Regions from separate parts of the Homo sapiens genome. Here all the other regions are linked to region 2. The links are contacts of gene promoters, found by promoter capture Hi-C in blood cells and fetal thymus (Javierre and others, 2016). All regions are on one chromosome and are shown on one strand. Each heading gives the region's core, a stretch centred on a gene start or on the middle of the fragment in contact. The rest is flanking DNA. Distances are from core to core; before and after follow the strand shown. Region 1 has its middle 4.4 kb from the start of ZNF790. Region 2 holds the start of ZNF606 (zinc finger protein 606). Region 3 holds the start of ZNF382 (zinc finger protein 382). Region 4 holds the start of ZNF461 (zinc finger protein 461). Region 5 holds the start of ZNF383 (zinc finger protein 383). Region 6 holds the start of ZNF793-AS1 (ZNF793 antisense RNA 1).

What was found. The method cuts DNA at HindIII sites, captures the fragments that hold promoters and counts their contacts. A CHiCAGO score of 5 or more calls a contact.
Region 1: a fragment that was not itself captured here is called in contact with the fragment with the promoter of ZNF606 in region 2 in 1 of 17 cell types (total CD4 T cells); the score reaches 6.4 in total CD4 T cells.
Region 3: a contact is called between the fragment with the promoter of ZNF382 here and the fragment with the promoter of ZNF606 in region 2, in 2 of 17 cell types (non-activated CD4 T cells and naive CD8 T cells). The highest score is 8.0, in non-activated CD4 T cells.
Region 4: a contact is called between the fragment with the promoter of ZNF461 here and the fragment with the promoter of ZNF606 in region 2, in 1 of 17 cell types (non-activated CD4 T cells). The highest score is 5.2, in non-activated CD4 T cells.
Region 5: the fragment with the promoter of ZNF383 here is called in contact with the fragment with the promoter of ZNF606 in region 2 in 6 of 17 cell types (total CD4 T cells, non-activated CD4 T cells, activated CD4 T cells and 3 more); the score reaches 18.6 in total CD4 T cells.
Region 6: a fragment that was not itself captured here is called in contact with the fragment with the promoter of ZNF606 in region 2 in 2 of 17 cell types (naive CD8 T cells and activated CD4 T cells); the score reaches 6.3 in naive CD8 T cells.

What each region holds. Positions count from the first base shown.
Region 1 is chr19:36,840,334-36,845,273 of GRCh38, reverse strand. It overlaps a transcript of ZNF790 not described here. Among named protein-coding and RNA genes, the nearest start is that of ZNF790, 4.4 kb to the right of the region's middle. The HindIII fragment of the contact is 1,231 bases long and covers 2,981-4,211 here.
Region 2 is chr19:58,000,761-58,005,290 of GRCh38, reverse strand. It overlaps ZNF606 (zinc finger protein 606), which reads left to right and starts at 2,471. Exons shown (of 7, transcript NM_001348022.3): 1 at 2,471-2,895; 2 at 3,921-4,002. The coding sequence starts at 3,972. It overlaps ZNF606-AS1 (ZNF606 antisense RNA 1), which reads right to left and starts at 2,397. Exons shown (of 4, transcript NR_036508.1): 1 at 2,245-2,397; 2 at 1,955-2,080; 3 at 591-908. RefSeq lists an enhancer at 2,120-2,539. The HindIII fragment of the contact is 14,498 bases long and covers 1-3,356 here.
Region 3 is chr19:36,602,270-36,606,676 of GRCh38, reverse strand. ZNF382 (zinc finger protein 382) reads right to left here and starts at 1,364. Exons shown (of 5, transcript NM_032825.5): 1 at 1,330-1,364. It also overlaps a transcript of ZNF529 not described here. RefSeq lists enhancers at 913-972, 1,953-2,092 and a silencer at 1,333-1,392. The HindIII fragment of the contact is 5,073 bases long and covers 1-2,993 here.
Region 4 is chr19:36,664,016-36,668,541 of GRCh38, reverse strand. It overlaps ZNF461 (zinc finger protein 461), which reads left to right and starts at 1,705. Exons shown (of 6, transcript NM_153257.5): 1 at 1,705-1,852; 2 at 3,756-3,844. The coding sequence starts at 3,836. It also overlaps a transcript of ZNF567 not described here. RefSeq lists an enhancer at 1,399-1,528. The HindIII fragment of the contact is 6,595 bases long and covers 1-4,526 here.
Region 5 is chr19:37,214,798-37,219,463 of GRCh38, reverse strand. ZNF383 (zinc finger protein 383) reads right to left here and starts at 1,250. Exons shown (of 6, transcript NM_001387601.1): 1 at 1,190-1,250. RefSeq lists an enhancer at 1,135-1,624. The HindIII fragment of the contact is 5,435 bases long and covers 1-1,939 here.
Region 6 is chr19:37,503,521-37,508,487 of GRCh38, reverse strand. ZNF793-AS1 (ZNF793 antisense RNA 1) reads left to right here and starts at 1,401. Exons shown (of 3, transcript NR_110723.1): 1 at 1,401-1,649; 2 at 2,448-2,642. It overlaps ZNF793 (zinc finger protein 793), which reads right to left and starts at 1,549. Exons shown (of 8, transcript NM_001013659.3): 1 at 1,522-1,549; 2 at 85-223. RefSeq lists enhancers at 1,333-1,482, 1,048-1,839, 1,840-2,631. The HindIII fragment of the contact is 826 bases long and covers 2,409-3,234 here.

The DNA.
Region 1 (4,940 bases), core at 2,347-4,846, about 21 Mb after region 2:
CAGCTAATTTTTGATTTTTTGTAGAGGCAAAGTCTTGCTATATTGCTCAGGCTGGTCTTGAACTCCTAGATGCAAATGAACCTCCACCTTGGCCTCCCAGATTGCTGGGATTACTAGTATTAGCCACTGTGCCTGGCCTAAATTTCTTTCTGTTTCATCTGAGATCTTGTTCTTCTCGAAAAACTCCATTTAGTATTTCTTTTTTTTTTTTTTTTTTTTTTTTTTTGAGACGGAGTCTCGCTCTGTCGCCCAGGCTGGAGTGCAGTGGCGGGATCTCAGCTCACTGCAAGCTCCGCCTCCCGGGTTCACGCCATTCTCCTGCCTCAGCCTCCCAAGTAGCTGGGACTACAGGCGCCCGCCACTACGCCCGGCTAATTTTTTGTATTTTTAGTAGAGACGGGGTTTCACCGTTTTAGCCGGGATGGTCTCGATCTCCTGACCTCGTGATCCGCCCGCCTCGGCCTCCCAAAGTGCTGGGATTACAGGCGTGAGCCACCGCGCCCGGCCCTAGTATTTCTTTTAGTGGTGTTCTGATGGCAATGGATTCTCATGGTCTGTCTGAAATGTCTTTTTATCCTTTCTTTTTTGAAGGAGATTTTTACTGACTATAGAATTCTAGGTTATATATATTTTTTTTCTCAGAGTTTTGGTGAACTTCTTGAATCTATGGTTGCTGTGTTTAATCGGTTTTGGGAAATTCCTTGCCATTGTCTCTTCAAATAGGGTTCTTCTCCACGCTGTCTCTACTTTTCTTTTGGGACTTCAATTATACATACCAATGTGTACACTAGTTCTTTGGTGTAATTTTTCATCTTTTCATCTTTTTAAAAAGTCCTTGCCTACTTACTCTAATGCCAGGATCACATTTTGGTCTATTTCTATTGTTTGCTTGTTTGTTTGTTGTTTGGAGTTTGGGGGCTTTTTGGGTTTTTTTTTTTTTGTTTTTTGTTTTGTTTTGTTTTTGAGACAGGGTCTTGCTTTATTGCTCAGGCTGGAGCACAGTGGTGTGTTTTCAGCTCACTGCAGCCTCAATCTCCTGGGCTCAAACGATCCTCCCACCTCAGCTTCACAAGTAGCTGGGACCACAGGTATGTATCACCACACCCATCTAATTTTTTTATAGAGGTGAGGTTTTGCCATATTGCCCAGGCTGATCTCAAACTCCTGGGCTCAAGCAATCCACCCAGGCATTCCCAAAGTGCTGGGATTACAGGAATCAGTCACCCTGCCCGGCCTTTTTTTTTTTTTTAATTTTTTTTTTTTTTTGAGATGGAGTTTCGCTCTTGTTGCCAAGGCTGGAGTGCAATGGTGCAATCTCGGCTCACTGCACCCTCCACCTCTGGGTTCAAGCAACTCTCCTGCCTCAGCCTCCCGAGCAGCTGGGATTACAGACATGTGCCACCATGCCCGGCTAATTTTGTATTTTTAGTAGAGACGGGGTTTCTCCATATTTGTCAGGCTGGTCTCGAACTCCCAACCTCAGGTGATCCACCCACCTTGGCCTCCCAAAGTGCTGGGATTACAGGTGTGAGCCACTGTGCCTGGCCGACCTGTTTGTTTTTTCAGAGTTTTCTGTCATACAGTCCTGTCTCGGCATGCTTAATACTTTTTAAAATTAAATTCTGGACTGGTGTATAAAAATAGTAGAGGCTGCAGATAATATCTTCCTTTAGAGAATTCATCCTTTCCTTTACTGGGCAGATCAAGTAGGGGCTGATGACCTTCATTTAATCAGTGATTGAGTTGAGTCAGGGCTCCATTACGGTTGTGGAGGTTCATTGTGCTTCTGGTTTGCCTGCTCCTAGGACGTAGCCCATCAGGGTTTCAGGAGGATCTGGTGTGTTCACCAAGGCACCTTCCCCTGACAGGGCCTGAACTCAAAATCTTTGTCTTCTTAATCCAGCAAGACTACCAAAAACTCTGCTGCTTTTTGGAAGCTTTCCGCCTAAGTTCCTGAGCCTCCTGACCCAACCAGTTTCAGAAATGGGTAACTGTCTTGAGAAGAAAACCAGCCTTATGTAGAGTTCAAGTCTGTGTCCCTCTTTTCTCACAGGGATCTTGGCCCATAAAGTCTCCAATGTTGTGTTTTTAGGCCCAGAAAACTAAAGTCCTAGCAGTCTGGATCCTTCTGCCCTTTGCCAAGAATTGGCAAATAATCCAGGAAAAATGTGGCTGCACAATGTCTGTGATTACCTACAATCTATAGTCTTGACTACGCTATTCCTGGTTGTCCCAAACACTCCTTCATGTCTTTTTTTTTTTTTTTTTTTTGAGATGGAGTCTCACTGTTGCCAGGGCTGGAGTGTGGTGGTGCGATCTTGGCTCACTGCAACCTCCACCTCCTGGGTTCAAGCGATTCTCCTGCCTCAGCCTCCTGAGTAGCTGGGATTACAGGCATCCGCCACTACGCCCAGCTAATTTTTTGTATTTTTAGTAGAGACAGGGTGTCACCATGTTGGCCAGGCTGCTCTCGAACTCCTGACCTTGTGATTCACCTGCCTCAGCCTCCCAAAGTGCTGGGATTACAGGCATGAGCCACCGCGCCCAGCCCCTCATGTCTTTTTCATACAGGAAAAAAAAGTTAAAAAGCTTTGTGTTTTTTTTTTTTGTATTATATCTGATTTTTTAGTTTTCTGCAGGAATACTGGTTTGCTGCAAGCCACTCCATTGTATCCCTAAAGTGACTTTTATAGTTTCATTCTGACTATATTATTAACTTTGTTTCATTGGATATGAAGGTGAATACCTTTTTAAATATTTAAAACTTATTATTTCCATGAACTATGTTTCCTTTGTCTGTCTCACTATAATACTAATTTTTTAAATTCTAGAAATATTATTCACTTTTATTGAAATGTATGAGCACTTTATATATGGTGGAAATTAGTGATTTATAAATCTCATATAGGCACATTTTATAATATTTTTTCCTGGTATCTATCTTTTTATTTCCGTTTATGCCCTTTGCACATTTTAAGCTTGAGGTTATTTGTTTACTTGTTGAGTTTTGAAGGTTCTCTATATATTCTGGATACAAGTCCTCTGCCTGATATATGATTTACAAATATTTTCTCCCAATCTATCCCATGTCTTTCTCCTTAACGGTGTTACTTCAATAGCAGACGTTTACATTTTCTATGAAGTCCAGTATATCAAGTTGTTCTTTTATGGATTGTGCTTTTGTTGTCATGTCTAAGAACCCTTCATCTAACTGCAGGTCATGTACACTTTCTTTTATGTGTTCCTAAAAAAGTTTTATAGGCTAGGAGTGGTGGTTCATGCCTGTAATCCAAGCACTTTGGGAGGCAGAGGCGGGAGGGGCGCTTCAGGCCAGGAGTTTGAGACCAGCCAGGGCAACATAGTGAAACCTTGTCTCTACAAAAAAAAATAATAATAACTTCTCCCCTCCCCCCACCCCCCACCCCGAGATGGAGTCTTGCTATGTCCTCCAGGCTGCAGTGCAGTGGTGTGATCTCGGCTCACTGCAACTTCCACTTCCTGGGTTCAAGCAATTCTCCCTGCCTTACCACATCCAGCTAATTTTTGTATTTTTTAGTAGAGATGGGATTTCGCCATGTTGGACAGGCTGGTCTTGAACTCCTGATCTTAGGTGATCCGCCTGCCTTGGCCTAAAAATATATATATATATTTTTTGAGATGGAGTCTTGCTCTGTTGCCCAGGCTGGAGTGCAGTGGTGTCATCTCAGCTCACTGCAACCTCCATTCCCCAGGTTGAAGAGGTTCTCATGTCTCAGCCTCCTGAGTAGCTGGGATTACAGGCACGAGCCACCATACCCAGCTAATTTTTGTATTTTTAGTAGAGATGGGGTTTCACCACATTGGCCAGGCTGGTCTCAAACTCCTGACCTCATGCGATCCACCTGCCTTGGCCTCCCACAGTGCTGGGATTACAGGCATGACCCACCGTGCCCAGCCTGTTCCTTCCATTAATCTATCTTTCTGTCCTTCACCAAAAACACACTGTCTTGATTACTTAGGGCATCTCAACCTTGGACCATTATTTGGGACTGGATAATTCTTTGTTGTGGCAAGCTATCCTGTGCTTGTAGTGTATTTAGCAGCTTCCCTGACCTCTGTCCTCTAAATGCAAATTGTACCTCTCCAGTTGTGACTACCAAGAACTTCATACTGTGCTGTATATCTCCTGGAGAACAAAATCACCTCTGGTTGAAAAACATTATGGTAAAGCTTTGAAAATATTAATAATATTTTAAATTCCTTTTTAGATAGTTCCAACATCTACATCATATCTTTTTCTTTTCTTTTAATTTTTGAGGTAGGGTCTTGCTTTGTTGCCCAGGCTAGAGTGCAGTGGTGCAATCACAGTTCACTGCAGCCTCAAGCTCCTGGGGAGATCCTACCTGAGTCTACCTCTATTTGTTTGTTGTTGCTTTTTGCTTTTATGTCTTGAGTGTCATGATTTTTCTTGCCTTTTCATGTGTCTTGTAATTTGATGTTGCTGAAAACCATACATCTTTAGGACAGTAGTGAGCAGAAATTAGTTAACATAGCAGGTCTGAGACTACTTATCCTTAGAAAGGCCTGATATGCGAGGTTAGTCTTTGGCTTGCATCTAGAACTTGAATTTCAGATTGGTTCCCACCTTCCTAATAAGTGGCTTACTATGCCTAAACTTTTTGTACAAACAGTATGGTTTATGTTAAACACCCGCTTTCCTTCTGGGAATTTGAAATTCTGGTATGTGTTAGGCACAGACTGCCTATGTGACCAGCCCCCAATAAAAACATAGGGCACTGAATCTATAATAAACTGCCCTGATTGGTAACATCTCACATGTATTGTCACAACTCACTGCTGGGGAACAAATAAATCCCATATAAATTTACTGGGAAAGAACCCTTCGCAGTGTGCACCTGGTTTCCCCTGGACTTTGCCCCATGCGCTTTTTTCTTTACTGA
Region 2 (4,530 bases), core at 1,222-3,721:
CATATGGTTGGGGGGTGGGGGGCTTAGAATTTTATTTTTTGGTTTACAACATTAATCCATTCATGACAGCAGAGCCTTATGACCTCCATAAATCCCATTAGACCCTGCCTCCCAACACTACTGCACTGGGGAGTAAGTTTCAACATGAATTTTGGAGAGGATAAAAACATTCAAATCATAGCAGGGGTGTTTTTCTTCATCTGGTTTCCTGACACCTTTAGGTCAAAGGTATCTCTCTCATTTGAGTTCCCTCTCAAAAGTGAACAGAGCTACCTCATCTCTCTTTAGAATATGAATTCTAGTCTTATTTTATATGAACATTGAGGTTTGTGTAGCAGGTATTTGGTGATTGCATATCTTAAAACTTGGCTTCTGTACTGTATGAGACTATCAGTTACGATACGAAGAAAATAAAAAGAGAGTAATACAATTGAGAATTAGGGAGATGAGTCACAGCTGGCTGTTACCAGGATGTGACATCTGTGCTGTGATCTGGATGAAAAAAAGAAAACCCTGGGGCTGTACAAGGAAGAAGATTCCAGGAAGAGGAAACAATACGTACAAAGGCCCTGAAGCAGGAATGGACTTACCCTGTTTGAGGAGTGGCTGGGGTCCAGAAATGGGCAGGAATGACAGGAGATGAGCTTGAGGGACTGAGGTGGGGTGTGGGATAGGACAGAGGCCAGTCCTGCTGAGTTTTCTAAGCTGTGAGCTGGAATTTGGATTTTACTTTAATTACTTGGGAAGCCAGTGCAGAATGTGAGGCAAGGACCTGATGTGAGATCCTAAAAGTGCCCTTGGCTGCCTGCTGGAGGATGAGCTGTAGGGGGCTGGAGTGGAAGTGGAGAGACACTCTCTTCTTACTTCTGTCACTCTTCCTTCTCCAGCCTCTCTTTCTCTGCTTGATCCTGAGATGGAAATTGTGGCTGTACCATCCATAGATTGCTTTCCTCTCAGTGCCCACTCTGACTGGGTTCACCTTCCTGCCAGCTGGGGCCTGTCCCAACACCTTGCCCCTTCCACCTTACCTCTCTCATGGTCCTCTCCCTCGAATTCAGCCTGTCCTACTTGAAATTTTCCTCTCCCTTGAATTCAGCCTGTCCTACTTGAACTTTTCCTCTCCCTCTGAAAGGGCTACTCCCCTTTGCCCACCCACAGTGAGTGCCAACACCACCCAACAACAAAAGCCCAACCCACAGGCCAGCTTTTTAAAATGATCCTCCATTACTAGTGGAAATATCTTCAAAATCTCTCTTGCCCACTGCTCACTCAAGTCTAGCTTCCTAAATGGCCATGCTTTCTTTGGTATCACCACCTACAGTCCCTCAGTCCCTTTTTTTGAGACAGAGTCTTGCCCTGCTGCCCAGGCTGGAGTGCAATGGCTTGATCTCGGCTTACTGTAGCCTCCGCTTCCCGGGTTCAAGCGATTCTCCTGCCTCAGCCTCCCAAGTAGCTGGGTACAGGTGCCCTCCACCAAGCCCGGCTAATTTTTGGTATTTTTAGTAGAGACGAGGTTTTATCATGTTGCCCAGACTGGTCTCGGAACTCCTGACCTCAGGCGATCCACCTGCCTTGGCCTCCCAAAGTGCTGGGATTACAGCTGTGAGCCACCGCGCCCGGCCCGTTTTTGTTTGTTTTAATGCCGGGTCTTGCTCTGTTGCCCAGGCTGAAGTGCAGTGGTGCGATCATAGCTCACTGCAACCTTGACCTCCCAGGCTCAAGCAATCCTTCCACCGCAACCTCCTAAGTAGCGGGGACTACAGGCGCGCGCCATCACACCGGGCTAATTTTTGTATTTTTTTTGTAGAGATGTGGTCTCGCTATGTTGCCCAGGGTGGTGTCGAACTCCTGAACTCAACTGATCCTCCCGCCACAGCTTCCCGAAGTGCTGGGACTACAGGAATGAGCCACCGCTCCCGAACCGCTCCATGCATATCGATAGAGGAAAACTCACAGGGTGCGTCGCTGGTAACCCATGCTCCCATAAAGCCTGGCCTCTGGAAAGAGACTTGGGAACGAGCCCTGACGTTCTCAGCCGTCGAGCTTCACAGAGAAGGGTAGCTCGAATTAGGTTCCTTATCTTAAAGAGAATAACAGCAGTCACTTTCTCACAATCTTGCGAACGCCAAATGGAAGGATCCCTCGAGAGCGCTGAGAACTCGCCGAGCTCCTCCCGGGAAACCCGGTACCACGAGGCGCCATTTTGCGGATGGGCAAACCGAGGCCCGCGGGGCCGCGACTTACCCAGGCCTTTTTGCAGTGGGAGGCGACGGTGGAGGAGGGTGGTCTGGGACCGGGACAACAAAGTCCATCCTGCCGCCGGCTTCGACGCAGGTGCCAGAAAGGTCCCAACCCCGCCCAGGCAGGGCGAGGCGGCGCGGCCCAGGAACCTGTCATGGCGGCGCCGCTGCCCGACGCCGGAAGTGCCCGCCTGGAACTACAGCTCCCAGCAGACCCCGCGGCGCGCTCCGGTCGACGCCGGGGAAGCAGCCGCCATTGTCCGCGGCTGAGGTGAGGCCTTTGCTCAGGCTGTGGGGCCGCCGTAGCTGCGGGGCTTGGGGGGTCAGGAGAGCCGGCTGGGAGAGGCGGCGTCAGGGTGGGTCCTGCGCCTGCCCTTTCCGCGCCGGCTTTGCGCCGTCGTTGCCGTCGGTTCTCCAGCCAGCAGCCTGCCTCCGGCCTCCCGCCTCCGGGCGTTCTTCGTTTTCTGGTCGGACGGGCCTGGGTGAACTCTGCTGCACGTCGGCTCCGCGGGCCTTTGTCCCCGAGGCCGCGCCGGGAGCTCCCAAGCGCACTCCTGGGCCGGACCTCGGCGCGGGACAAAAGCCAAACGCCCCAGGCGGGCAGACCCCGATCCTGCTGCGCCGCCTTCAAGGGGGACCGCCGGCCGCGAGCCAGGTGAGGCCGGGACGAGCTTTTGCAGCGTCGCGGCCGCGTCGGTCTTGAGGAGGAAATTTGGGTCGGGAGCTCTGGAAGCAGGTGATAAGGATGCTTCTGAGGCCATTGATGGGACGAATAACCCCGTTCGTTCCCCAGCCGTCGTTTCTCCCCCTGCCAGTTCACACAAAGCACTGTGAAGGACGTCAGACCTGGGTTGGAAACAGCTCCGGGTTCCCTTAAACATGCAGTGACGGCGGCGGTCACTGTCAAGTTGCAAATAATGGTGCAAAGTACGGTTTGCATTCTGCGTTTTCGCGCTGATTCCGGTGCTCCTGAGGCCCACTGTGTGTTCTAGTGCTTTATACACATACCCAGGAATCCATTCGAGAGGTTGCTGACTTGTACAAAGATCTGGAACCTGAGGAGTTAGGGGTCTGGGCGCCAGGCCCATCTCTAAGTCCTCCACACACACACAAGCTTAGGCTTAGTAAATCTTGGAGGTGAATTTTTTTTGGAGGTGGGATTAAATTTGCATAACATAATGTTCACTTTAAGCACTTAAAAGTGTGCAATTCACCGGTTTTATTGTATATTAATAAAGTTGTGCAATCATCCCCATTATCTAATTTTAGAACATTTCATCACCCCACAAAGAAACCCTTGTTCCCCTTAAGCAGTCACTCCCCATTTCATTTTTCCCCCAGCTCTAGGCAACCACTAATATATGAGGATTGCAAGTTGATTTTACAATAATTGTCAGATTAATCCAAAAGTTCCATCTGTGTTGTGACTGGCTGTCTCTTGGGAATAGCTGACAAATTTGTACCCTCTCATTCAGGATCATGCTCTTTTTTCCAGCTTATGCAAATTACCTTTCATTTCTCTCCAGGAATTGTGTTACTTTTTTGACATGTAAATTCTCTTTTCTTACGATGCTCCTTACAAGTTTTTTTGTTGCTTCGGTGGATGGATTCCCTTCTTTGTTCCCACTTGGTCTTCTGTGAGAAAGGACTAGTTTTGTCTTTTTTCACTTTTGTCACTAGGTTGGGATTTGCTGTGTTCCTGGGCAGGTGCCTGGTCAATCAGTCCTCGGGATGGCAGCCATCAACCCGTGGGCCTCCTGGGGTGAGTCCAAGTTGTGTTTCTCCTGGGCCTCCCCTATCATTAGCTGCTGCAGTCATGGGTCAGAGCTGGTGATGGGCTGAGGACTTTTGAGGATGGAAGGGGGTCTGTCTATCTTGGTACAAAATTAGAACTGATTGGTGGTAAAGGAGGAAAATTGTTGGCATAAAAGACACTAACTTTTATGTTTTATAGTCATCTCCTGAGAGGTGTCATTAGTTTTAAGGGATTTTTCTGGTGGTTTGTGGGGTTTCCTAAACAACAGTGATACATATAATAAAATATTGTCTCTACTGCTCTCATATATATTTTTACCTTTATTGTTTTTACTTATATAGCATTGGTTGGTAATTTTAAAACGGTGTTAATTAATAGTGACTCACCTGTGCATTGCCTGTGTGAATCCAGCTTATGTTGCATTTTTTTTACACACCCTTGGGCTCTGTTTATGGAATTTTGTAGTGCCCATTAGCGAGTCAGCCTCCTCTTGTATTTTGTCGCCTTGAATCACTAGGTTTGGTGTCACAGTCC
Region 3 (4,407 bases), core at 115-2,614, about 21 Mb after region 2:
AAAGTGGTAGTTATGCCAGGCACAGTGGCTCACACCTGTAATCCCAGTACTTTGGCAGGCCGAGGGGGCGGGGGGAGGGGATCACTTGAGGTCAGGAGTTCAAGACCAGCCTGGGCAACATGGTGAAACCCCATCTCTACTAAAAATACAAAAACTAGCCGAGCGTGGTGGCACAAGCCTGTAGTCCCAGCTACTCAGGAAGCTGGGGCAGGAGAATCACTTGAACTTCAGAGGTAGAGGTGGCAGTGAGCAGAGATCATGCCACTACACTCCAGCCTGGGCAAAAGAGCAAGACCTTGTCTTAAAACAAACAAAAAACAACAACAAAAGTGGTAGTTATGGTAAAAAAAAAAAAAAAAAAAAAATTTCCTGCATGTCCCCAATGGAATGCTATTCATTTCAACATACTGGTTTTAGTTAATATGGTGTTTCCAGGAAATGAATCTGGGAATTATGAAAATCATCTCTTCCCCTCTGATACTGTTATCTCTATTTTATTTGCTAAATTGCTACTTAGTTACAGTTTTGGAGGCAGGCTTAATGGCTACTATTCAGATAATCAAGTCTTACATAACCAACTAGCCATGGTCATAACAGAGTTCCTCAATCATTCAAATATTTAGGTCACTAAGGCCACAAAACCACCAGAAGTAACAGTAGGTTACAAACACATGCAGAGTCACAGTCAATCAAACATCCTTCAGAGAACCACCAACCTACAGGCCCCACTTGTCATTCACAACCTCAGACAGCAGCTAACACGACTCCAGGCAGTCACAACCACACCTACAAATCACTTGCAATTCTCCACACTCAAAGGCAGTCTCAAATGCGACTCACACCTAATCTAAAAATAGACACACGCAGAGGAAACCTCGCGCAGCAACACTACTCCGTTCACTTTTCACACACAATCGGCCACAACATCCCAAAGAGAGGCAAGCACCTAAAATGCAGCAGGTTGGGCGCAGGAGGCCACCCCTATTCAGCGCGCGCCCGCGCGCGCGAACACACAGCGCCCGCTCCGCGCGGGGACCCGCCGCCAGCGATGGCGCTTCCGCGGGATCAGAACGGGCAAAATCCCCCTTCGCGGAGCTCGCTCCGGGTCACCCTCAAGGTCACGCCCATGGACCACGCCCGAGGCCCGGCTCGTACAGATCGGAGCGTCTGGATACCGCGGTCCCGGTTTCCTCCTCAGAATTTCCAGGCCCGGCTCGGACTCTTGGTTACCTCCCTGGCCTCCCCACCCGGTTCCGCGTCCTTAGACAGCTCTCCCGGAACGGAGCTCCCAGTGCCCTCCTTGGCCTCCTCAGCACCCCTGGCACCCACCAAGCCTCACCCCCGGCCCAGGGTGAGTCGTCTGCGCCTGCGCACTCGCGCGTGGGCCTGAGCTCCCAGGAGTCTCCGGGGCGGCCCGTTAGTCGCCGCGCGGTGCTAGCTGCCGGCGCTCCCCTCCGTTTGCACCCACGGCCGCCCTATTGCGGCTGGCACTACGCTTCTGCCAGGACCCCGGCTCCCTTTTCCGTTGACCTGGTGTTCGTTTTCCATGTGGTGAGTTGAGGTGACCCGGGTCTGGATGCGAGAAGAGCTCACGGCAGGGGACCTGGGTTCATGGGACGCGGAGAGGGTTTGTGGAGGCAGAAGCCCCAGGCCTGTGTGCAAGTCACCTGCTGGGGAGGGAGACTGTGTGATTGTGTTTGTGTGTGCCGTTCTGTGGCTGCGTCCGTGTGTGGTGGTGTGAGTGGGCGCGCCTGTGATGGTCCCGGGGGGGCGGGGGGTGTGCACAGCAGGGGGTGTGTGTGCACAGCAGGTGCACAGCCCGGGACAGCCCTGACTGTCCCCGATTGGGCCCGCGGGACTGAGTGGGGGCGGGGCCGTTTGTGTGACGGCGCTGAGCGGTGACTATGAATGTGTCATGCTGTTATCAGTGATCCTGTGACAGCGCTGTTGTGACCCACTGGAGACTGTGATCAAAACTGGCCTGGTGCAGCTTTTGTAGAGTTTGATTTCTGCAGTTCTGGGGCTCAGGAATACGTGGACAAGGTCCCCGTATGGCTCGATCTGTGTCTGTGAAGACTCTGAGACCTTCTGTTCTAAAGCATGGCCCCTGTCGCTTTCATAATGCATAATACACAGTGGCATGCAGCCTCGCCAACCTCTGGGGCCAATTTTAAGTTACGTGGTTTCTTGGAGTTTGTTATACTGGGATTTCTTTCACTGCCTCAGTCATTTCACCTTATAACCACGTTGCACAGTGTGCAGTCAAATGGCTATCGAAAAGAAAGTTGGATATTTGAGATCCAGAATGAAGTTTCCAACTGAAAAAGCACAGCCTTGTGTTTCACATGGACAAGGCTGTGTTCTGATATGCACAGCCTCGTGTTTGATATGGAGATGTTAGAGCTGGAATTGCTCCCAAGGCAAGGTTCTGGGAAGATATGATATTGAGGCCCCAGGAGTAGGATTCGTTTCTCCAAAGATTTTGTGTGTGTGTGTGAGATGGAGTTTTGCTCTTGTTGCCCAGGCTGGAGTGCAGTGGCGCAATCTCGGCTCATTGCAACCTCCGCCTTCCGGGTTCAAGCAATTCTCCTGCCTCAGCCTCCCGAGTAGCTGGGATTACAGGCATGCACCACCATGCCCGGCTCATTTTTGTATTTTTAGTAGAGACGGGGTTTCACCATGTTGGTCAGACTGGTCTCGAACTCCTGACCTCAGGTGATCCACCCGCCTCGGCTTCCCAAAGTGCTGGGATTACAGGCGTGAGCCACCGTGCCTAGCCAAAAGATCCCTTTTGGAAGCTCTGTGGGGGCAAGTTGAATATTGCAGATCCACAGCATTTTCATAGCTGTCTAAAGGAAATTATTGTGAATACAGAAACATTTCAGTCCCAGGCTTTGGTGAACCTGACTTTTCTTTATGAAGGGAAGAGTCAACAATATTCCAGTCTTTCTCATACTTCCATCTGGTCATATTCAGCATGGGTTATGGAAGCTTGCCGGTGGTGAAGAATGTGTTCTTATTTAGCCTGTCTGGGCTCCAAGAAAGGCTGAGTATATTGTGATTCCCTTTCTTTCCACATTTTGCTGTATTCCAAGAGAAGAGCTCTGAGAGAAGAAAAGCATTGTAGTTGCACATTTTAAAGCAAAGCTGGAGGTCATTTTGATTTTTTTCTTTGTTTTATGAAATGCATTTTTGTTTTTCAGGATGTGGAATAACTTCATTTGAAATGCTCACCAAATAGTGACTTATCTATTTACCTGGTCTCTAGTCCTTCTCTTCCCAGTTACTGATGACATTATGAAGACAGATCTCCTTCTTTCCAGTACCTCATCAGATGCCCTTCCTAGAGTTAATTTTCATATAACACCTTGACAGTATGTTCACTTCTCCTGTGTGCTCTTTTTGTTTAAGCATTCTCATGACATAGAAATAGTCTGCCTTCACACGGTGATTTGTTACGGAGGAGACCAATTGCTTAGGTAGAATTACACATTAGATAGTTTAGATTTTCTTCAGAGACATGAGTGGAAAAACAGCAAGATAGGAGATCGTTTGAATGGTTATAGTAACTTTTTTTGTTTTAGAGGACCTTAGGAGTTAGAATATTATTGCAGAGTATGTGCAGAGAGAGCTGTTAAGAAGGGCAGGAAGTTTTTCCGAGGGGATACCTTAGGAGATTTATATGGTACCAGCTAGTTCTTGCATGAGGTTTGGCCGCATCACGTGTTTTTTTTTTTTTTTCTTTTGAGACGGAGTTTCACTTTTGTTGCCCAGGCTGGAGTGCAATGGTGCGATCTTGGCTCACTGAAACCTCCGCCTTCTGGGTTCAAGCGATTCTCCTCCCTCAGCCTCCCGAGTAGCTGGGATTACAGGCATGCGCCACCATGCCTGGCTAGTTTTGTATTTTTAGTAGAGACGGGGTTTCTCCATGTTGATCAGGCTGGTCCTGAACTCCCCCCACCTCAGGTGATCCACCTGCCTCAGTCTCACAAAGTGCTGGGATTACAGGCGTGAGCCACCGTGCCCGGCCAGGTGTTTTTTTCTTTTTTTCCCCCAAGTCACATAACTGTGTAGACTGTGTGAGTATGGTATAATGGTCTCTGGGTCTAGAACAGGGGTTTGCAAACTATGGCCCTGTGGGCCAAATCCAGCCTGTAGCCTGTATTTTTGTATGGCTTGTGAACTGATTGGTTTTAACTTTTTGTTAATAGTTGACCACGAAAAAAAAAAAAAGGAGAGTAATATTTCATGACATGTGAAAATTATATGCAATTTAAATTTGTGTCCATAAATAAAGTTTTGGATTTTGGCAATTAAAAATTTGTGGAGGTGGCCAGGCGCGGTGGCTCACACCTGTAATCCCAGCACTTTGGGAGGTCAAGGTGGGTGGATCACAAGGTCGGGAGT
Region 4 (4,526 bases), core at 456-2,955, about 21 Mb after region 2:
CCTTCCTGGTCGCAACCAGCTTCTTCCCTTCTCAGGGGCCGCCACAGTCACACTAGTCCTCTAATCATGGGTGGACCCAGCGCAAAAAGCCTCACACAGAATGTCACAAGATCCCTGTGCACGTGGCTGCGCTCCTGCAAACGTGGCAATCACACGGGTCCAGGTGGCCTCTCACATTTAAGCCACATCACGTATCACCCCCACAGGGGCCACTGCGGGAGTGGCGGCGCTCGCCGCATGAGCCCCACGCGGGCATATAGAACAGCCATTCTCAAAAAGCCTCAAAACCGTTTCACCACCCAGCGCGGTGGCTCACACCTGTCATCCAATACTTTGGCCACTGAGACGGGAGGATCGCTTGAGCCCAGGAGTTCGAGACCACCAGCCTGGGCAACATAGCGAGACCCTGTCTTTACCAAAAAAATAAAAATAAAATAAATCGTTTTGGCCTGACCCGGTGGCTCACGCCTGCTATCCCAGCACTTTGGGAGGTGGATGCGGGAGGAGCTGAGGAGGTGGAGACTGCAGTGAGCTAGGATCGCGCCACCGCAGTCAGCCTGGGCAACAGGGCATGAAGACCCTGTCTCAAAAAGAGGCCGGGCGCGGTGGCTCACGCCTGTAATCCAGCACTTTGGGAGGCCGAGGCGGGCGAATCACGAGGTCAGGAGATCGAGACCATCCTGGCTAACACGATGAAACCCCGTCTCTACTAAAAATACAAAAAATTAGCCGGGCGAGGTGGCGGGCGCCTGTAGTCCCAGCTACTCGGGAGGCTGAGGCAGGAGAATGGCGTGAACCCGGGAGGCGGAGCTTGCAGTGAGCCGAGATTGCGCCACTGCACTCCAGCCTGGGCGACAGCGAGACTCCGTCTCAAAAAAAAAAAAAGAAAAAAAAAAAGTTGAGTGAAATATATGACGTACAGTTTTTTGTTGTTGTTGTTGTTTGTTTTTTCTTGCCCGGGCAACAGGGCAAGAAGACTCTGTCTCTAAATAAATAAATAAATGGAGTCAAATATATGACATACAGTTTTGTTTGTTTGTTTGAGAAGGAGTTGCTCTGTCGCCCAGGCTGGAGTGCAATGGCGCGACCTCGGCTCACCGCAACCTCTGCCTCCCGGGTTCAAGCGATTCTCCTGCCTCAGCCTCCCGAGTAGCTGGGATTACAGGCATGCGCCATCACGCCCGGCTAATTTTGTATTTTTAGTAGAGACGGGGTTTCTCCATGTTGGTCAGGCTGGTCTCGGTGATCCGCCCGCCTTGGCGTGAGCCACCGCGCCCGGCCAAAAAAAAAATTTTTTTTTAAATCGTTTCACATACAAATCTCACGCGCTACACCCTCACCGTCAGTTCATATCCACCTTCTCCTCCGGAGTCACCTTCGGACACGCGCACAACAAAACACCTTTCTCACCACAACTCCACAAAGGGAAGCCGGGTTAGTCCGCGCCCGCCGAAAATTATCTTCAGCCACAGCCCGCGGAGGCCGCCTTGAGGGGTTCGGGGCAGCCACTGTGCCTATTCCGAAATCCGTCCTCAGCGGAACCCGAAGTCCAGAATCCGAAAACGAACATTAACAGGTTGGCGTCACTCCAGCCTCGGGTGAAACTGCGCAAGTGCATCCCGGAGCCCGGCGGAACACACCCGCTCCACCCCAGGCGCTCTCCCCTCGGACTGCATTTCCCAGAGGACACTGCTGTCCACAGCTACTTCCGGTAGGAGCCTCGCAGGAATGGTCTCCGGGTAGAGGCAGGTAAGGATGTCCCGGGCCGGTGGAGAAGGAAGAGCTGGGCGTGTGGCTTCGCTTGGAATCCGAATCAGAGCTTGGACCAGAGCCTTCCCTGAGAATGCTGAAGGTAAGAAATCCTGGCTCACCAGTGCCGCGGAAGGGAATGTCTATAGTTTTAGGCCTCTGAGTGCGGGATCAGCCCTTAGGTGGGTGTGTTTTGAATGCGTGAGGAAGTAGGGTTTCTCTTTGGGCTGTGTGTTACTGTTGGGACAGCGACCTGGTGCGTGGGTGTGCTTTAGTGACAGTGTGATTGTGTGCCTGATCATTTGTGTAAATGGGGTTTGTAGGTGACTGTGACCATGATTGTGAATGGCTATTTGTGTAAATCTCATTTATTTACGTGAAAGAAAAAGCACATTTACAGGCCGGGAGCGGTGGCTCACCCCTGTAATCCCAGCATTTTGGGAGCCCGAAGCGGGTGGATGCCCTGATGTCGGGAGTTCGATACCAGCCTGGCCAACGTGGAGAAACCCCACCTCTACTAAAAATACAAAATTAGCCGGGTATGGTGGTGCATGTCTGTAATTCCAGCTCCTTGGGAGGCTGAGGCAGGAGAATCGCTTGAACCCGGGAGGCGGAGGTTGCTGTGAGCCGAGATCGCGCCATTGCACTCCAACCTGGGCAACAAGAGTGAAACGAAACTGTCTCAAAAAAAAAAAAACAAAAAAACATTCACGTTATCCTCAGGCTCACACGATCAGGCAGAGAGCTTCCACTCCTCTCAGTCAACTCTGGTCTCTCACACACAGACACACGCACATTCACCTCACCCCGCTCCTGTGCACACATCTAAGGCTCAGGACGCCCCACTCCAGAGATCTGTCATTCATCCATCTCTCATCCTTTCCTGACTACTTGAGGAGTTAGCTGTAGATTTACACACACAACACAAGCGAAAATCACATTGCTACCCCGCATTTATCATTACAGCCTCAGAAAAACACCACATATGTAGTATGCTTATGTACCTATGTGTTTGATTTTTTTTTTCTGAGATTTGGCCACAATACACATTGTTCTGCAACTTCCTTTTTTTTTTTTTTTTTTTGAGACGAAGTTTCTCTCTTTCACCGTGGCTGGAGTGCGGTGGCGCGATCTCGGCTCACTGCAACCTCCGCCTTCGGGTTTTAAGCAGTTCTCCTGCCTCAGCCTCACGAGTAGCTGGGATTACAGGCATCCGCCACCACACCCAGCTAATTTTTGTATTTTTAGTAGAGACGGGATTTCACCATGTTGGCCAGGCTGGTCTTGAGCCCCTGACCTCGTGATCCGCCCGCATCTGCCTCCCAAAGTGTTGGGATTACAGGCGTGAGCCACCGCGCCCGGCCTCTGCAACTTCTTACTAAAAGATATTTATGTCCTTTTGTCTGTATTCAAAGACAAACTTAAGAATATTTTTCAGGATGTTTCCAGGTATGATTCTTCTTTAATTCTTACAGCACTGTACTTCAAACTAAAGACTCAAGAATTTATTTTGGTCTGCAAATTTTTGTTCTATTTATTTTTTCTCTTCCATCTGTGTTGTTTCAGCCTCTATTTTTGAAATTTCTGTTACACATACACTGGGTCTTTTGGGTCTGTTTTCTGTTTCCCTAATCTTTTCTCATAATGTTCATTACCTTTTCTTTTTCCTCTTAATTCAGTGAAAATCTACCCAGTGCAGTTCTCAGCACCCTGATCCTGGCTTCGATTTCATCATAGTATTGGGACAATGGGCTGGCCTAACTATCCCTTCTGCTGAAGGGCATGATCCTTGCTTTTCTTGAGTCTATCCTGCTGTAGCTGAGTTTCCTCATGGTTTTGAGTAAAGCTAGGATTTGTCCAAATTCCCACTAATAATTTATGTATGTATGTATCAGGTCTGGGAATAGGAGATATGAAGGGGGAAGAAAAATGTCATTCTGAATTAACATTTTGGGAGCTTAGAGGCAATAATCTCCTGTCTTTTTTTTAACTCCCCTCTCTCCCAGCAACACCTTCTTTGGATTGAGTTTCTTCCAGAGGGAACGAAGAAGAGGATTAAATAATACATTCAATTCTAAAATAAGACATGGCCCATGTAAGTTGGTTTTTTCTTGCTCCTAATTACAATACTTGATTTTTTGTTTGTTTGTTTTTGTTTTTTTTGTATAGGGCATGTGACTATTTGCTTTTTTTTTTTTTGAGACATAGCCTCGCTGTCTCCCAGGTGGGAAGGTTAGAGTGCAGTGGTGCGAACTTGGCTCACTGCAGCCTCCACCTCCCAGGTTCAGGCGATTCTCCCACTTCAGCCTCCCAAGTAGCTGGGACAACAGGCACGTGCCACCACACCCAGCTAATTTTTGTACTCTAAGTAGATACGGGGTTTTGCCAAGTTGGCCAGGCTGGTCTCAAACTCCTGGCCTCAAGTGATCTGCCCATCTGAGCTTCCCGAAGTGCTGGGATTACAGGCATGAGCCCCTGCGCCTGGCCTGCATTATTTATTCTGACATAGTTTCTTACCTGGGAATTATACAATAACTTACTAGTGAGTAAGTGACGGTGCCAGAATTTCAGGGCCTTCATTTTTGCTCCTCTCATCTCCAACTCATGTTCATATACTTGTTGAATAAATGATTCTTCATCTCCCTTACGTGAAATCTTTTAACAGACACAAGGAGAGAACACAAATAATATTGTTTTGAAGAAAATATTAGTGTTTCTCTTGTCAGAACTTTGATTTGATGAGGTGATTAACGAATATTTATTGAGTACCTACTATG
Region 5 (4,666 bases), core at 1-2,500, about 21 Mb after region 2:
GACCAACACGGAGAAACCCCGTCTCTACTGAAAATACAAAATTAGCAGGGCGTGGTGACACACGCCTGTAATCCCAGCTACTAGGAAGGCTGAGGCAGGAGAATTGCTTGAACCGGGGAGGCGGAGGTTGCGGTGAGCCGAGATTGCGCCATTGCACTCCAGCCTGGGCAACAACAGCGAAACTCCGCCTTAAAACAAAACAAAACAAAAACAGAGAAGTGTAGGCTGTCATGAGCATTCTTGGTATCAGAGGGGTGAGGTCTCTCCTCTCGAGAATCTGTCCTGACCTCACAGGGAGAGCTGGAGTCACAAAGACAGTCACAAGCACCCCCTACCCAATGCTGCAGTCACCCAGCCACCATGGGGACCCACATAGACCTCCACAGGCACGCCTCACCCAAACAATAACACTATATATGGTCACACAATCATTGTCCCACATCTACCTTGAGGATAAGTTACACTAGCATATTTACAGACCCCTCAAACATAGCACCATTCAGAACCAGAGTGCTACAGATAGTCACAATACCACACGCACTACTGAGCCACACAAAGTTACAGTTCCCCCCTCCCCAGGACCCCTATTGAGCACTACACACAATCACACATTCAAAATAACACAATGACCACTAGGACACACATATCACCCCGGCACGATTACACGCACTTTCCAACCGCAGACACAGTGCTACATAAAGTTACATGGTCACACTCTCACATTCTCACGTTACTGGGTTATTTCTGGGTAGTAGATTTACTCAGTAAGGCATCCAGTACACTTAAGTGCTGCTAACAGTCATACAAACACAATTACACACACCCCTCAGACTAACACACAGTCACAGCCTCATCAGATTCTCTCCACACAAACACCCTCCACAAATGTCACGCAAAGTTACACAGCCACACACAATCACAGTCCCAACACGGGACACAGTCATACCTACACATACAGCCTTACATTGTTACAATTACACAACTACAACGAGGATATACAATCACACCCGCGCACACAGAGAGGCACAGTCACATAAGGTCACACTCACACACGGAAGCCCACGCCTCGCGCCCGCCTCCCCACCACCCCCTCTATCAGCCCGACCAACTCATACATGCCCGACACACTCATACATGCCCAACACTCCAGACCAGCCTGGTCAGTCCCTTCAAACTCCCATGCACGTACCTGCGGGCCCCAGCCGAGCCTGCAAGACCCAGGCCGCTCACCGCGCACTTCCCCTACCCTTGAGGCGGAGGGTCCAGCAGGCAAATGAAGGGGCTGCCCTGGACTCGCGGGGGCCTCTGGGAAATACAGTCCGGAGTAGGACCGCGCCGAGAAGATGGCGCCTGTTTTTTCGGGTTCTTGCAGCTGCACAGCTCGGGGACATCCCTGCTCCGCACTCCGAACCGCTACCCCGCGTCTCCGTGATCCAGACACAGGCTCAGAGTGAAACTGCCGTAGGACGCTGGCCCTGCACGCTGAAGACAATCTTCCTCCATGGTACCGGCCAACCCCAGGGAGTTCCCTGAGAAACAGGAAAAGGTCGCCAGCTTCGGGCCAGATGTTGACTAGAGCCGCAAGGATTTTTGGGAACTGTAGTCTAGAGCAGGAAGGGGTGAGGCGCTGGGGCAAGTGGAAGGAGGTCGCTTAAATGACTTCCTGCCCCAAGCCGACTCAGTGCAGAACGCACCCAGGACCCCGGACTGTACTAGGCGTTATAACGCTCTCTGAGAATGCTAGACTGACTAAATCGTCATTTTTGCCTTCATCCGTGGATAAGCCACATACTGTATGACTGCATTTATAGGAAATATTTAAAATAGTCAAATCTACGGAAAAGGAGTAAGTTAGAGTTTTTTAGGACTAGCAGGATTAGGGGGAACTGTGAGTGATTGGTAATAGCTAAAGGGTTCATTTTTGGGGTAATGCAAAGCTTCTTGAATTAGATAATGATGTTTGCACAACTCTGAATACACTAAAAGTGACTGAATGGTACACCATAAACGAGCTAATGTTATAGTTTGTAAATTATATTTGTGTGCATGTTTTTTAAAAATCAACTTTACTGAAGAATAATTTAGATACAATAAAATGCACTCATTTTAAGTGAACTGTTCGGTAAGCTTCAACGCATGTCTAAACCCTTGTCACCACCATCGTAATCAGGATATAGAATATTTTTTAAAATTAAAAAATTTTTAAGCATTTTAGTTAAATTTTTGTGGGTACATAGTAGTTGTATATGGGGTACATGAGATGTTTTGATACAGGCATGCAATGCGTAAGAATCATATCATGTAAAATAGGGTGTCTATCCCCTCAAGCATTTATCCTTAGTGTTACTGGATATAGAATTTTTTTTTTTTTTTTTTTGAGTTGGAGTCTAGCTGTCACCCAGGCTGGACTGCAGTGGCGAGATCTCGGCTCACTGCAAGTTCCGCCTCCCGGGTTCAAGCGATTCTCCTGCCTCAGCCTTCCGAGTAGCTGGTATTACAGGTGCCCGCCACCATGCCTGGCTAATTTTTGTATTTTTAGTAGAGACAGGGTTCGAGCTCACAGGCTGGTCTCGAACTCCCGACCTCGAACTTCTGACTTCGTGATCCGCTCGCCTCGGCCTCCCAAAGTGCTGAGATTACAAGCGTGAGCCACCGCGCCCGGCGGATATAGAATATTTTTATTCACCGCCCTCTGCCCCCCACATTGTTAAGTCAATCCCCACCTCCCAAACCCCACATCAGGCATCTATTGACTATTCTAAGGAATGAGCAGTAGTATCAAATTATGTTTTTAATTTGCATTTCCTGATGTCAATGAACTTAGCATACTTTCATATACTTATTTGCCATTCTTTTATCTTCTTTTGTGACATCTATTGAAAATATTCGGCTGGGCGCAGTGGCTCACGCCTGTAATCCTAGCACTTTGGGAGGCTGAGGCGGGCAGATCACCTGAGGTTGGGAGTTCGAGACCACCCTGACCAACGTGGAGAAACACCGTCTCTACTAAAAATACGAAATTGGCCAGGCGTGGCGGTGCATGCCTGTAATCCCTGCAGGAGAATCACTTGAACCCGGGAGGCAGAGGTTGCTGTGAGCTGAGATCACACTGTTGCACTCCAGCTAGGGCAACAAGAGCAAAACTGCATCTCAAAAAATAATAATAAATAAATAAATAAATAAAATTTTCTTATTTTAAAATTGGTTATTATTGAGTTGTAACAATTCTTTATATGTTTGGGTAAAAGTCCTTTGCCAAATATACATATTGCAAATTGCAAATATTCTCTCCCTGCCTGGGGCTTACCTTCTCAGTTTTTTTTTTTTTTTTTTTTTGAGACAGGGTCTTGCTCTGTTGCCTAGTCTGGAGTGCAGTGGTGTTAACATAGCTCACCACAGCCTTGACCTCCTGGGTTTAGTCGATCCTCCTGAGTAGCTGGGACTGCAGGTGTGCACCACCACCCCCAACTAATTTTCTTGTGTTTTGTGGAGATGGGGTCTCACTGTGTTATTACAGGTGTGAGTCACTGTGCCCAGCCCTCAGTTTCTTCATGATGTCTTTCAAAAAGCAGTTTTTACTTCTGATGAAATCCAATTTCTCATCTTTAAAATGTGCTTCATGCTTTCTGGTCTTTCTAACAATCTTTGACTCCTCTAGTGTTGTGAAGAATTTCTCCTATGTTTTATTCTAAAGGTTGTATAGTTTTAGTTTTTATTTTTGGTCTATCATCCACTTGAAGTTAGTTTTTGTGTATGTGAGGTAATGTTCAAAGTTATTATTTTCCAGATGGAAATTCAGTTGTTCTAACATCACATGTTAACAAAACTATCATTTTCCTCTTGAATGACCTCAACATCTAAAGTAGGCAGGATAATGTTCCCCCCAAAATACCCACATGCTAGTTCCTGGGACTTGTGAATATGCTATGTTACATGGCAAGTGGAATTAAATTAACAGGTAGAATTAAAGTTGCTAATCGGCTGACCTTAACATAGGGGAATTATACTGGATTGTCCAGTTAGACCCAATGTAATCACATGGGGTCTGAAATGAGGAAGAAGGCATAAAGTCAGTGTTGGAATTGTGTGCTGTGAGAAACACACGACCAGCCATTATTGGGTGTAAAGATGAAAGGAGCCCATGAGCTGAGGAATGCAGGCAGCTTCTCCAACTTGGAAAATGAAAAAAAACAAATTCTCCAGAGCCTCCAGAAAGGAATGCAGCTTGCAAACTTTTGATTTTAGAGCAGAAAAAACTCATTTCTTTTTTTTAATTTTTAATTTATTTTTTTAATTTTTATTTATTTATTTTGAGATGGGGTCTCCCTCTGTTGCCCAAGCTGGAGTGCAGTGGTGGGATCTCGGCTCACTGCAACGTCTGCCTCCTGGGTTCAAGTGATTCTCCTGCCTCAGCCTCCCTAGTAGCTGAGATTACAGGCACCCACCACCATGCCCGGCTAATTTTTCTTTCCTTTTTTTTTTTTTTTTTTTTTTTTTTTTTAAGTAGAGACAGGGTTTCATCATGTTGGCTAGGCTGGTCTTGAACTCCTGACCTCAAGTGATCTGCCTGCCTTGGCCTCCCGAAGTACTGGGATTACAGGTGTGAGCCACTGCACCCAGCATTTTTTTTTTTTTTTTTTTTTTTTAGAGACAAGGTCTTGCTCTG
Region 6 (4,967 bases), core at 1,572-4,071, about 20 Mb after region 2:
TCCACCCACCTCAGCCTCCCAAAGTGCTGGGATTACAGGCATGAACCACTGCACACAGCCTACATTATCATTTTAGATACTTACTCAGTAAATTTGTTTTCTAACCACGGGCAAGGTCACATCCATCCCCGCTGTCACAGAGTCAGAATGGATTTCCAGAAACCAGCCTCACTCTTGGGATGCTGGCACAGATGCGTATGTCATTACCTTTGCCAGAAAGAGCCTTAAAGGAAACATTAGGAAAAAATATGCATTAGATCCCTAACAAGAATAGAAGCCACGTCTTTAGTAACATGTTACTTTAGATAAGTTTAGCACGCGATCCTTTCAAATTATTTTCATTATTGTAGAGAACAATAAAAAGGGTGTGGGTTCAAAAAAGAGTTTTCAGATGGGCCTTGGTGGAGAGGAACTGGCTGCTATTCAGCTAGGGAGTGTCACCTGAGTGAAATGTGTTCCCGCTATGCAGGCTTGCAGCCTCAAATCTGTGATTTTCCCATCCCCAATCTCCACATTTCAGGACCCTCAACACCAACCCCTATAAGTCTCCTAATCAGACACGCATAGTGCCCCCAATCACTGGCCTCCAATCTCCAACCCTCAGAGGTTTTCATAGTCACTGATATTCCCCTATGTTCAAATCTGACCAGGAGAGACTACAGGTCAGTAACTACAAAGAACACCGATCCGATCTGATTGCCAGTGAAATTACACAGCCCCCAATCATGAATCCACACTGATTGCCAATGATATCCCAACGACTGAGGATCAATTGTTGATTCTCACAGTCCCACTCCCACCCACAAGTGACAGTCCGAATCACTGAGCCTCATTGAGGCGTACCTTTAAGATAAGCACACTTGACTCTATTCTCCATTCCCTGATCTACAAAAGTCCAATCGTTAATACTCTCCGATCCTCCACCGATGATATGAAGTAAGTCTCAATCACCGATGGCCCAAAACATTTCTCCAAACATTCATCACCACTGACCTCCCTCATTTGAACCCCAAAGTTTCCACAATCACCAATTCCAGTACCCAAACTATTACTGCCCACAGAACTTAGAACCTCCGATCACTGATCCTCTCGGGCTCCGATCATTAACCTTAAAGATCTCTAAACCAGTGTCTGAAAAATCCCAACTGACCCCAGACCCATGAAGACCACTATTACTGACCCCATGCACCCTGAAAATCAAGACATTTCACAGAACTCGCATTTATTGATTCCCACACACTCCCAATCCATCTTCTTCAGAGACCGTGCCACTGACTCCCGCAAACCTCTGTCCGCCACCACTGAGGCCCCGCGAGGCTCAGACGCCGAATCTCTTAACCCTTCAGTTCCCTTGTCATTGACCCTCACGGGCACCCATAGCTGACCCAGTCGGCCACCGTAGTCGGCAGCTCACTATCCTCCACTAGTCCCAGGTTTGACCGTTTCTCAAACCGTGCCTTCCCATTTATGCTGCATCCGCGCCCTGAATCTGAAATTGGTCGTCCTGCCACGCCGCCTCACCGCGGTATAAGGTCGTCCCATCCTGAATGGCCGGTGCGCAGACTCAATTGCGACTTTGAGGCTGTCAGCCGCCACCCGGCAACCTTCCAGTGAACAGGATTCTGGGTTTCTCAAAGCTGTAATTGGAGGTATGATGGCGACGCCCACTTGACTCCTACCTGGGGCGGCCATGTTTAAAACTGTGCCGTAAAACGGATGATTAAGCCCTTTGCTAGACCAAAAGATAAGGCTATTTTAGGACAAGGAGAAGGAAGTGTCCCTGGATCCCTAAACAGAGATGTCGTCTCTGCTCTTAACTCAGCATCTCAGATGCCAAAACCTCCTGTGGCCAACATGGTGGCGCCCAGACATCAAAGCTGAGCTTTCTTTGTCTCCGGCAGCCTGGTAAGATGGCCGCGTACATTTTTACCGCTTCTTACGTGCAATGGGTGCAGCCTCTCCTAGGAGCTCCCCTATGGCAATGTGAAACTCTTTCTGAGCCAGCTCTAGGAGTTAGAGAGCAGCGAAGAGACTCGCTCTTAGGGAGACAGAGACAGCCTAAGGACGGGCGTGACTTCACGGAAAGGGCGGAGCCGCAAGGAAAGGGCGGGGCTGCCGCAGCGGGAAGAGATCAGAGTTCTTAGCGCATAATGGAAAGGAAATGTTGAAAGCAAGGTTTTTACCTAAGGAGGCTTGCCCGAGAAGCCGACCTGAGGAAAGAATGAGTGCAAGCAGTTTATTTGGTAGGTGGGGGATGGAGAAGTGAGACGGGAGCGATGGGAACGAATATACAGTGCATAGGTGAGCAGATTAGCTCTGGATCAATGAGGGCTCAGTCAGCTTGGGACCTCTGGGGGATTGTGTAGAAACCACTTCCAAGTTTTCACAACCACCAGGCCGATGAAGCTTACATATGTCTACACCATCTCTCTTCCTAATTGTTTTAGGGCCACTCCAGAGGTGTTAAAGCTCCAGCACTTCGAGCCTGCCTCGTGGGAAAGTCTTAGGCTGAGTCTGTAGGTGTCTGCAGTTAAGAAGCCAGCGGTCTGCATATGATTGCTCAGGGGTGGTGGCTGGGTCCAACAGCATTCACTACAGGCCTGCCTTGAATACCACCTAGCGCAGTGCTCCGCATATCACAGGTATTGGAACATCTCTAGAAAAGATTGCCTTGTCTTATGAAAATGGCTTTTTAAAAAAATCCTAATTCCAACTGGTCATCCTAGCAACTGATACAATAACTGACCTCAAAATGTTTCCCAATGATTCCTACCTCCTACTATTCACACTCTTATGTAGTTCCCTCCCACATTGTACCAGGGTTGGACTGTGAGACTAATAGAATGCAGTAGCAGTGATAGATGTCACTGCTGAGATTAAATATAATAAATGGCACCTTGAGTTCTGTCTTAAAGGCTGCTGCCCCCACTTTGAGAGAAGTTAGTTGCCATGTCATGAGGATACCGAGACAGCCTATGGAGAGGCCCAGGTAGCAAGGAACTAAGCCCTCCACCCAATAGCCTGGGAGTAGCTGGGGCCTTCCTATAACCAAGTGTATCACCCTTGGAAGCACATCTCCCAGCCCCAGTCAAACCTTGAGATGACAGCAGCCCCTGCCAATAGTTTGACTGCAACTGCGTGAGAGACACAGTCACAAGCACTCAGCTATAGCAGCTCCTATATTCCTCACCCTCAGAAAGTGTGTAAGATACTACATGTTTGTTGTTTTAAGCTTCTGAGTTTAGGGTAATTTGCTATGCATCAGTAGATAACTTCAATGCTGTGTTAAAATGCTACAATTGACATTTCTTCTTTTTTTTTTTTTTTGAGACGGAGTTTCGCTCTTGTTGCCTAGGCTGGAGTGCATTGGTGCAATTTCAGCTCACCGCAACCTCTGCCTCCCGGGTTCAAGCGATTCTCCTGCCTCAGCCTCCTGAGTAGCTGGGATTACAGGCATGCACCACCACGCCAGGCTAATTTTGTATTTTTAGTAGAGACGGGGTTTCTCCATGTTGGTCAGGCTGGTCTCGAACTCCCGACCTCAGGTGATCCGCCTGCCTCGACCTCCCAAAGTGCTGGGACTACAGGTGTGAGCCACCGCGCCCAACCCCATTTCTGAATTCTTTAAATAAAGTTCCTAAAGTTGCGAGATTATTCTGTCAGAGGAGATTATTACCAGTTTCCTCTTCTTCCTTGCGATGGAAAAATTAAAGGCCTATGGCTCTGCTAGATTTTTAAAATTTAACAAAGAGGTCAAGGGTCCTTGCTTCATTTGATTTAATATAAGTGGTTTATATGACAACACTTTGAAGTGATTATAGTAATTAATTTAAAATCACCATTTAGGCTGGGCATGGTAGCTCACACATGTAATTCCAGCACTTTGAGAAGCCAAGGTGGGCAGATCACCTGAGGTCAGGAGTTCAAGACCAACCCGGCCAACATGTTGGAACCCCGTCTCTACTAAAAATACAAAAATTAGCCGGCATGGTGGACGCCTATAATTCCAGCTGCTCGGGAGGCTGAGGTAGGAGAATCACTGAACCCAGGAGGTGGAGGTTTCAGTGGGCCAAGATTGTGCCATTGCACTCCAGCCTGGGTGAGACTCTGTCTCTAAAAAAACAAAAATAATAATATTGAAGTAAAATGAGTATTTATAAAGTGCCTATTAAATGCCTGATTGATCACTGGCCTGCTCACTTCAAGGGCTGTTCTTATTCTAGGATTAGACCAATAAAGCAGCCACAACTGGTAAATTGTCACTCATGAAGGCCGAGGGAAAGACAGCCTTTGAGGGTCTTTTGCTGGGAATTAAACGTTCTGCCTCAAAAACTATACATGTCATTTCCATTCACTAGTCTTTGAGACGTCACATGGCCACCCAGGAGTGTGATAGCAGACATGTAATCCTACCATAATTCTGGGATGGGAAGAGCTGGCGATATTTTGGAATAACATTAAAGACTGCCACAAACATTGTAAAGATAGTGTTATCATCACGCTTCAAAAGAAACTGCAACACGGGGGTGAGGTGACCTGTCCGTAATCATTCAGTGAGTAAATAAAGCAACAAGGATTCAGAGCTGGGTGTTTCTGTGTTATTCAGAAGTAAAGGATCATTAGCATCATTATTAAATTTTACCCAAAATTTATTAGAACCTAAATATATCTCAGCAACTGAATTGGGAAAAAGAAGACTGAGTACTCGAGTAAAAATAGAGGCTACTCAAGGAGCTGACCTCTTGATTGGGGAAGGAGTACACATGGAAAGAGGAAACAGGTAAAAGAAGAGTACACACTGTAGGACTCCAGTCATGAGAAACTCAAGAACAGGCAAAACAGATCTATTGAGTTATAAATCAGAAAGCAGTTGACTCCAGGGGCTATTTTTTTTTTTTTTTTTTTTTTTTCTGAGACAGAGTCTCTACTCTGTCTCCCAGGCTGGAGTGCAGTGGTGAGATCTCCAT